Regions from separate parts of the Homo sapiens genome. Here all the other regions are linked to region 3. Evidence: promoter capture Hi-C in 16 types of primary human blood cells and fetal thymus (Javierre and others, 2016). All regions are on one chromosome and are shown on one strand. Each heading gives the region's core, a stretch centred on a gene start or on the middle of the fragment in contact. The rest is flanking DNA. Distances are from core to core; before and after follow the strand shown.

What was found. The method cuts DNA at HindIII sites, captures the fragments that hold promoters and counts their contacts. A CHiCAGO score of 5 or more calls a contact.
Region 1: a contact is called between the fragment with the promoter of ZNF100 here and the fragment with the promoter of ATP13A1 in region 3, in 1 of 17 cell types (M0 macrophages). The highest score is 5.8, in M0 macrophages.
Region 2: a fragment that was not itself captured here is called in contact with the fragment with the promoter of ATP13A1 in region 3 in 1 of 17 cell types (monocytes); the score reaches 6.0 in monocytes.

The regions. Positions count from the first base shown.
Region 1 is chr19:21,766,181-21,768,880 of GRCh38, reverse strand. It overlaps ZNF100 (zinc finger protein 100), which reads left to right and starts at 1,302. Exons shown (of 5, transcript NM_173531.4): 1 at 1,302-1,454. The coding sequence starts at 1,452. RefSeq lists a silencer at 1,138-1,315. The HindIII fragment of the contact is 10,466 bases long and covers 1-2,700 here.
Region 2 is chr19:21,828,494-21,831,193 of GRCh38, reverse strand. All of the region lies in intron 1 of ZNF43 (zinc finger protein 43), which reads left to right. Among named protein-coding and RNA genes, the nearest start is that of ZNF43, 6.3 kb to the left of the region's middle. The HindIII fragment of the contact is 3,605 bases long and covers 1-2,700 here.
Region 3 is chr19:19,662,341-19,665,040 of GRCh38, reverse strand. ATP13A1 (ATPase 13A1) reads left to right here and starts at 1,365. Exons shown (of 26, transcript NM_020410.3): 1 at 1,365-1,770. The coding sequence starts at 1,375. RefSeq lists silencers at 879-928, 1,369-1,628 and enhancers at 1,029-1,318, 1,662-1,763, 1,035-2,017, 2,149-2,198. The HindIII fragment of the contact is 4,289 bases long and covers 1-2,216 here.

The sequences.
Region 1 (2,700 bases), core at 53-2,552, 2.1 Mb before region 3:
ATGATTTGTTATGCCTCAATAGCTAACTAATACATGCACCCAGTACAGATAAGTTGCCAGGATTCAGTGACAGGTTGACTAAGAGTTGGCTTCTAACAGTGGACACCCTCTAGGTACTGATTTCTTCCCCTGATTTAAAGTTCGATGTTTTGTAAGAGAATTTTGGGTAATGCAGAAATACCTGTAGACATGTATGCGTGTGATTGGTGCTTAGACTCACATAGTCCCCCACACCACAGGAGAAAACAGATAAACACAGCCTGATTGTTAGGGCCAAGACCATATAGCAAACTATGTTTGTTTTTAATCTATTTTCTCCATCTCTAAATACTGGAGTTCAAGTGTGTGGACAGAACTGAAGACATAGTTGTTTTTTCTCCTGTGGCCCCATCATCCTTTGTTCACTATCTGGTCTCTAAAAGAAAGGTGGGCAACAGGTGGCCAGCAGTTGTTTATTACCTGTGGCTATTTTATTCCTACTGCCCTCAGCTCTTTCTATGGGAACTATCTGGTCCACCCTAGGAACCAAAGAGAGATGTTTGTAGGGAGAGTCTCTTCTTTCACTCTCGCAGGAAAGAGATGTTCAGGCCCTTCACACCGCTGACATCAGAGCTGCACTTCAATGTGACAGCTATTGTCCATGTGTGGCTACTGGGTTCCCACAATGTGCCTGGTCTGAAATGCGATATGCTAGAAAGGTAAAATACAAAGTCAGCTTCAAAGATTTAGTTCCAAATATTTATATATTTTATCAATAATTACATATTTCTCACACATTAAAATGATAATATTTTGAATATAATGGGTGAATTACATTGTTAACAATCAGTTCAACTTGTTTCTTTTTAAAGTTTGGCTACTAGAAAATTTCAAATCCACATGTGGCTGACATTCATTTTAGATGATTTTCTCTTTTCTAAAATCTCAGGCTGCCTGCTCAAAGGGCCAGAAGCCAGGAAGGTCATAAAAGCTGAAATTTTAAAATAATTGTTATATTCTTTTCACTTGTGTATAGCTATATAATGTATTATTTATTTATACATATGACCTTATACACAAATTTAAAGGCAAATACTCTCTGGGATGGGCCTAGCTCAGCTGAGGGAGGAAGCCCTGTCAGAAGAGGGGGCAGTCTAGGCTGTCACTCTTTCTTCATTGAACCCGCATCTGATCACATCTTCTGTCACTCAAAGCCTGACAGGGCGGGGATTTAAGCATTATCCAACCAGGGACGCTGGGCTGGAAACCGTCCAATCAGGCATGCAGCTGGAGCGGACTGGACGGCTTCCGGGTTTGGCGGGGTCTTTGTCTCTCGCTGTAGCCGGAGCTCCAGGTTTTGCTCTCACTTCTCTGTGTCTTCTGCTCCTAGGGGCCTAGCCTGTGTGGCCCTCTGACCTGCAGATATTGGGAGATCCACAGCTAAGACGCCAGGACCCCCTAGAAGCCTAGAAATGGTGAGAGTGCCCGGTCCGACATCCCGAGAGACGGCGAAAGGGCTGGTTGGAACTGGTGGGAAGTAGCTGTGGCGGGACTCAGGCCTCTCCGCAGTCAGCTTCACAATCTGCGCCTTGCCCAGCTCGGCCTCCGTCCCCTTCGGCCATAAGATGGCGGCTGCGCTGACAGCCAGGACCCCAGGCGTCCTTTCTCTTCCCTGCGTAGTGACTGTGCCTTGGCCTGGAGCCCTCTCTTGGCAGCTCTGCACCCGCAGCGCCGCGTCTCTCTCAGATTGTGCAGGGACCACGGGAGGGTCGTCAGGGGAAAATCCTGACTCGGGGTGCGGGTTCATGAATGGGAAGATCTTTGGTCCGTGGCTTTCCCAGTTCCTCTTTTCTCCTATTAAAAATGTATGGGAGTCACTGCACAAATATTAACGATTTTTTTGTTTGTTTGAGACGGAGTCGCTCTGTCGCCCAGGCTAGGGTTTAGTGGCGCGATCTCCCCTCACTGCAACCTCCGCCTCCCGGGTTCTGGAGATTCTCCTGGCTCAGCCTCCCGAGTAACTGGGATTACAGGCGCCTGTCACTGGGCCGGCCTTATTTTTTTGTATTTTTAGTTGGGACGGGGTTTCACCTCGTTGGCCAGGCTGGTCTTGAACTCCTGACCTCGTGATCCGCCCGCCTTGGCCTCCTAAAGTGCTGGGATTACAGGCGTGAGCCACCGCGCCTGGCCTAAAGAATTTAATCAAACAGTGATTCAAGAATCATAGAGTATCCAGCTATGGTTTGTAGTTTGTTGTCTATGGGAGAGGCTTGAAGGAAAGTCATTTATAAAATGTATGATGAAGAAAACTAAATTTAGTAATTGGTTACAGTAACGTAGTTTCTTGATTTGTACAATACAGGTGAAGATTTCCTGGTTGTGTAATCAGAGGTTAATTAACAGTTTATAGTTGTTTAAGCCTACATTTTCTCTGAATGTAGTAATTAAAAAAAAAATGCACCTGAGTTAGATTTTTTTTTTTTTTAAGTAGGAACCCAGGGACTAGAGACACCTCAGTGGAATTGCCTGTCTCTTAATTATTTTCACACTCCACGGGGAACTGATTTTCTGCTGCATTTTTCACCTGTGTCCCAAGCAGGTTGTTAAGTCTAACCCCCGTCCCCCATTTCTCCAGCCTCACTCTGGCTTGCAGTAAGATACTAAATTTCCAATTTCTTCTGGCGTTCCCAAATGTCAACTTTTCCTTCCTAATTCACATTA
Region 2 (2,700 bases), core at 81-2,580, 2.2 Mb before region 3:
CTTGTGCCAGTTTTCAAAGAGAAATGCTTCCAACTTCTGTGTGTCCATTCAGTGTATTGGCTTTGAGTTTGTGACAGATAACTCATTATTTTGAAGTATGTACCTTTAATGCCTAGTTCGTTGAGGGTTTTAACATGAAGAATGTTAAATTTTCTTGAAAGATTTTTCTGCATCTATTGAGATAATCTTGTGGTTTTGGTCTTTAGTTCTGTTTATGTGATTAATCACATTTATTGATTTGTGTATGTTGAAATAACCTTGCATCCCAGGGATATAGGCTACTTGATCATAGTAGATTAGCTTTTTGATGTGCTGCTGGATTCAGTTTGCCAGTATTTTGTTGAGAATTTTTCCATCATTTTTTATTAAGATCATTGGCATGAAGTTTTCTTTTTTTGTTTTATACCAGGTTTTGGTATCAGAATAATGCTATTATGTAATGAGTTGGGGAAGAGTTCCTTCTCAATTTTTTGGAATGGCTCTAGTAAGAATGGTATCAGCTTTTTTTTTTTTGTACATCTGGTAGAATTCTTTTGTGAATATGTCTGATTCTGGTTTTTTATTGGTTTCTAGGCTATTTATTATACTTCAATTTTGAATCTTGTTGGTCTCTTCAGGGATACTTTTTTTTTTTTTTTCAGTCTTTGGAGGATGTACGTGTCTAGGAATTGATCTATTCTAGATTTTCCGGTTTGTTTACATAGAGGTGTTCGTTACAGACTTGAATAATTATTTTGTTGTTGTTGGGTCAGTGTTAATGGCCATTTTGTCATTTCTAATCGTGTTTATTTGGATCTTCTCTTTCTTCATTAATCTCTCTAGAGTGCTATTTATCTTATTAATTCTTTCAAAGATTTTACTCCTGGATTTCTTTTTTTGTTTGTTTGTTTGTTTTTTGTTTTGTTTTTTTTTTTCATTTTGTTTTTGAAACAGAATCTCTCTCTATTGCCCAGGCTGGAGTGCAGTGGCACAACCTTGCCTCACTGCAACCTCCGCCTCACTGCAACCTCCGCCTCCCTGGTTCAAGCAATTCTCCTGCCTCAGCCTCCTGAGTAGCTGGGATTACAGGTGCCCACCAATACACATGGCCAATTTTTGTATTTTTAGTAGAGACCGGGTTTCACTATTTTGCCAGGCTGGTCTCGAACTCCAGACCTCAAGTGATCTGCCCACCTCGGCCTCCCAAAATGCTGCGATTACAGGGGTGAGCCACTGCACCCAGCCTTCTCCATATTTTTATCATTTTTTTGTCTAACTCTCCAGTTCAGATCTGATTTTCATTTCTTGTCCTCTGTTAGCTTAGAGGTCAGTTTGCTTTTTCTTCTCTTGTTCTTTTATGATGTCAGGTTTTGTGTTTTTTTGTTTTTTGAGACGGAGCTCAATGAATCCAATGTCTACTGAAATTCAGATGTTCAAGAGTTCAATATGTCCAGAGACCTGGCTGTTGTAAAAGAAAATATAAATCAGAGGCTTTATTATCCTACCTGAAAATAAGAGAGACTATCTTGTTCAACTCTTTTATCTTAAAGCATTTAGATTATATGGAGATATTTTTATTGCTTTTTTGAAATATATTTAAATCATATTAACAGCCAAATCTTTTGGCATTCTTTTGACTCAAGATTGTCTTTATTTAAGACCTCAGATTCATTGCTTATCCTTGATTTGGGAAAATTTAATTTTTTTTTTAGTCTTTTAAAGTAGACACAGATTTGTTTAGATTAAAGCTCATTTTAAGAGCACACAGAAGTTTAGTACGAAGAACGAATTAAATTTAGAAATACAGAATGGTAAAAACTAAAAAATACTGAATAAATTTCTTTGACAGAAAACTGATAATCCAAGGTAATCTAATATTTGCAGGCTGAAGTACTTACACTGCAAAAGCAAGAACAGTTCAGTGTGTAAACTCAACCTTGGAGTCTGTGTAGTTTTTTTTGTGTGTGGTGTTTTTTGTTTTTTTTTCCTTTGTGATGGAGTCTCACTCTGTCACCCAGGCTCGAGTGCAGTGGCACGATCTCGGTTCACTGTGACCTCTGCCTCATGGGTTCAAGCGATTCTCCTGCCTTAGCCTCCTGAGTAGCTGGAGTAGCTGGGACTACAGGCACGTGCCACCACGTCCGGCTAATTTTTTTTTTTTTTTTTTTTTTTTTTTTTTTTTGAGACAGAGTCTCTCTCTTTCGCCCAGGCTGGAGTGCAGTGGCGCCATTTTGGCTCACTGCGATCTCCGCCTCCCTGGTTCACGCCATTCTCCTGGCTCAGCCTCCCAAGTAGCTGGGAGTATAGGCGCCCGCCAGGGCACCCGGCTATTTTTTTGTATTTTTAGTAGAGACGGGGTTTCACCGTGTTAGCCAGGATGGTCTCGATCTCCTGACCTCGTGATCTGCTCGCTGCGGCCTCCCAAAGTGCTGGGATTACAGGCGTGAGCCACCGCGTCCGGCTGTATTTTTTTTTTTTCCTTAAATTTACTTTTTTTGAGACGGAGTTTCACTCCTGTTGCCCAGGCTGGAGTACAATGGCATGATCTCAGCTTACTGCAACCTCCGCCTACTGGGTTCAAGTGATTCTCCTGCCTCAGCCTCCTGAGTAGCTGGGGTTACAGGCATGTGCCACCATGCCTGGCTAAATTTTGTACTTTTAGAGTAGAGACAGGGTTTCTCCATGTTGGTCAGGCTGGTCTCGAACTCCTGACCTCAGGTG
Region 3 (2,700 bases), core at 116-2,615:
CCCGAGTAGCTGGGACTACAGGCGCCTGCAACCACGCCCGGCTAATTTTTTGTATTTTTAGTAGAGACGGGGTTTCACTGTGTTAGCCAGGACGGTCTCGATCTCCTGAACTCGTGATCCGCCCGCCTCGGCCTCCCAAAGTGCTGGAATTACAGGGGTGAGCCACCGCGCCCGGCCTAGAAGTATATAATTTCAAGTAAACACCAGTTTTTCATTTTTTATGTTAAAGTGGTAATTTCTTTTTTTTTTTTTTTTTTTTTTTGGAGACAGAGTCTCGCTCTGTCGCCCAGGCTGGAGGGCAGTGGCACAATCTCCGCTCACTGCAAGCTCTGCCTCTCCAGTTCGCGCCATTCTGCCTCAGGCTCCGGAGTAGCTGGGACTACAGGCGCCCGCCACCACGCCCGGAGAATTTTTTTTTTTTTTTTGTATTTTTAGTGGAGACGGGGTTTCACCGCGTTAGCCAGGATGGTCTCGATCTCCTGACCTCGGCCTCCCAAAGTGCTGGGATTACAGGCGTGAGCCACCGCGCCCGGCCTAAAGTGGTTTTTGTAATTCATTTTTCTTTTTTTTTTTTTTGAGACAGTCTTGCTCTGTTGGCCAGGCTGAAGTGCAGTGGAGCAATCTTGGCTCACTGCAACCTCCGTCTCCCGGGCTCAAGCAATTCTCCTGCCTCATCCTCCCGAGTAGCTGGGATTACAGGCATGTGCCACCACGCCCGGCTAATTTTTGTATTTTTAGTAGAGACGTGGTTTCACCATGTTGGGTCTTGAACTCCTGATCTCAGGTGATCCACCCGCCTCGCCTCCCAAAGTGTTGGGATTACAGGCGTGAGCCACCGCGCCCGGCTAGTATTTGTAATTCTTATCTATCACATTAAGGCTCTTGTCCGGTGTGGTTGTGTTCCGGGGCGGTCCCCGACCCCGCCCCTCACAAGCCCCGCCCCCCGCACCGGGCCCCGCCTCCTGAACTCCGAAGCTCCCGACCCCGCCTCCGCAGGGTCCAGGCTTCGCCCCTGGTGACAGGTGGTGCTGGTGTAGTCAAGGAGGAGGGCTCGCTTTTTTTGGTTCAGGTTGTCATGGTGGCGCCCAAGCCCGCCTTGCCGGCCTTGTCTTTTCCGGTCTCAGTCCGGCGTGGCAGCGGAGGCAGGCACCGTTAGGTCTTCCAGTCCCTCTCTGTCATGGCGACGCCCAGCCTCTTCTTCCGGCCACAGCCTGTCATGGCGGCACCCGAAGTAGTCCCTGCCGGGGCCAGCCTGTTCTGTTGCCCTGGCTCTTCCTAGTCCAGGCTGCCATGGCGGCGCTCAGGGCTTACCGGAAGTAAAACTTCGGAAGTGAGGCGTTCCTCTGCCCGGAAGTGAGCGCGGCGCTAGGAAAGATGGCGGCAGCGGCGGCGGTGGGCAACGCGGTGCCCTGCGGGGCCCGGCCTTGCGGGGTCCGGCCTGACGGGCAGCCCAAGCCCGGGCCGCAGCCGCGCGCGCTCCTTGCCGCCGGGCCGGCGCTCATAGCGAACGGTGACGAGCTGGTGGCTGCCGTGTGGCCGTACCGGCGGTTGGCGCTGTTGCGGCGCCTCACGGTGCTGCCATTCGCCGGGCTGCTTTACCCGGCCTGGTTGGGTGCCGCAGCCGCTGGCTGCTGGGGCTGGGGCAGCAGTTGGGTGCAGATCCCCGAAGCTGCGCTGCTCGTGCTTGCCACCATCTGCCTCGCGCACGCGCTCACTGTCCTCTCGGGGCATTGGTCTGTGCACGCGCATTGCGCGCTCACCTGCACCCCGGTAAGTGTGTACACGCGAGCCCGACCCCCAGCACGGTCGAGCCTCGCCGTGGGTCCCAGCTGCGGCCTTCCTGTCGGTCACCATCGCGACCTGGGCCACTCATCTGCCTGGCCTGGATTCCCAGGGGCACCCTCTACACTTTGGCGCAGGCTTAATCATGACCCCACTGCTGACTTGCTGTGCATGCCTGGTGCGGGTTATTTCCTTTTTCTGAAGTCCTCCCTGTTATGGTCATTTAGATTCAGTGATGTAATACTTGTAAAAGGCTTAGCGCAGGGCCCAGCATACGTCGCCCAGGTCAGGTAGGAGTTGTTTATACTAGTTCCCATATTAGCGACTACTCTTGTTCTGGAAACGGCCCTACCTTCCATCTCATCTGTCTCCTACCTTGGTTTTCAAAGTGTAAGGCGAGATCACTGGGATAGGTTTCCCCCATCTATGAAGCTTAGTTGGTTCTTAGACTGAACCAAGTCTTGCTGTCCAGTGCTTAGTGGTCTTCCATACTGTGATGGAAAGGAGCATGAAATGCAGTTAATTACAGTGTTGAAGAGAGGCAGAGGTGTTTATGAGCGAGTCATTTACATGATGTCTTTCCGCAAAATGAGGGTGGTGATACTGAGTTCTGTCGGGGATACAACAGCAAGCAAGGTCGCGCTCCTGACCCACAGTTTAGAGTTCTGAGTGACCAAGTGTCGTCGGAGGAGTTGGTGACTGTGAGCTTCCCTGGGCCTGAAGCAGTGACTGTGTCGTCTCTCTCTGGGCCTGCCTCAGGTGACACCAGCAGGTTTGGAGCCATGGACACTGAGGTATATCAGGAAGCTTCCCCTCTGATTCCAGGAGTGTGTTTGCCTCAAGAAGAGGAAAAGGGAACAGCATCAAGGGCTACAGAAAGACAGAAGCCCCCCACCCTGGCTGGCTCTGAATGTGGGT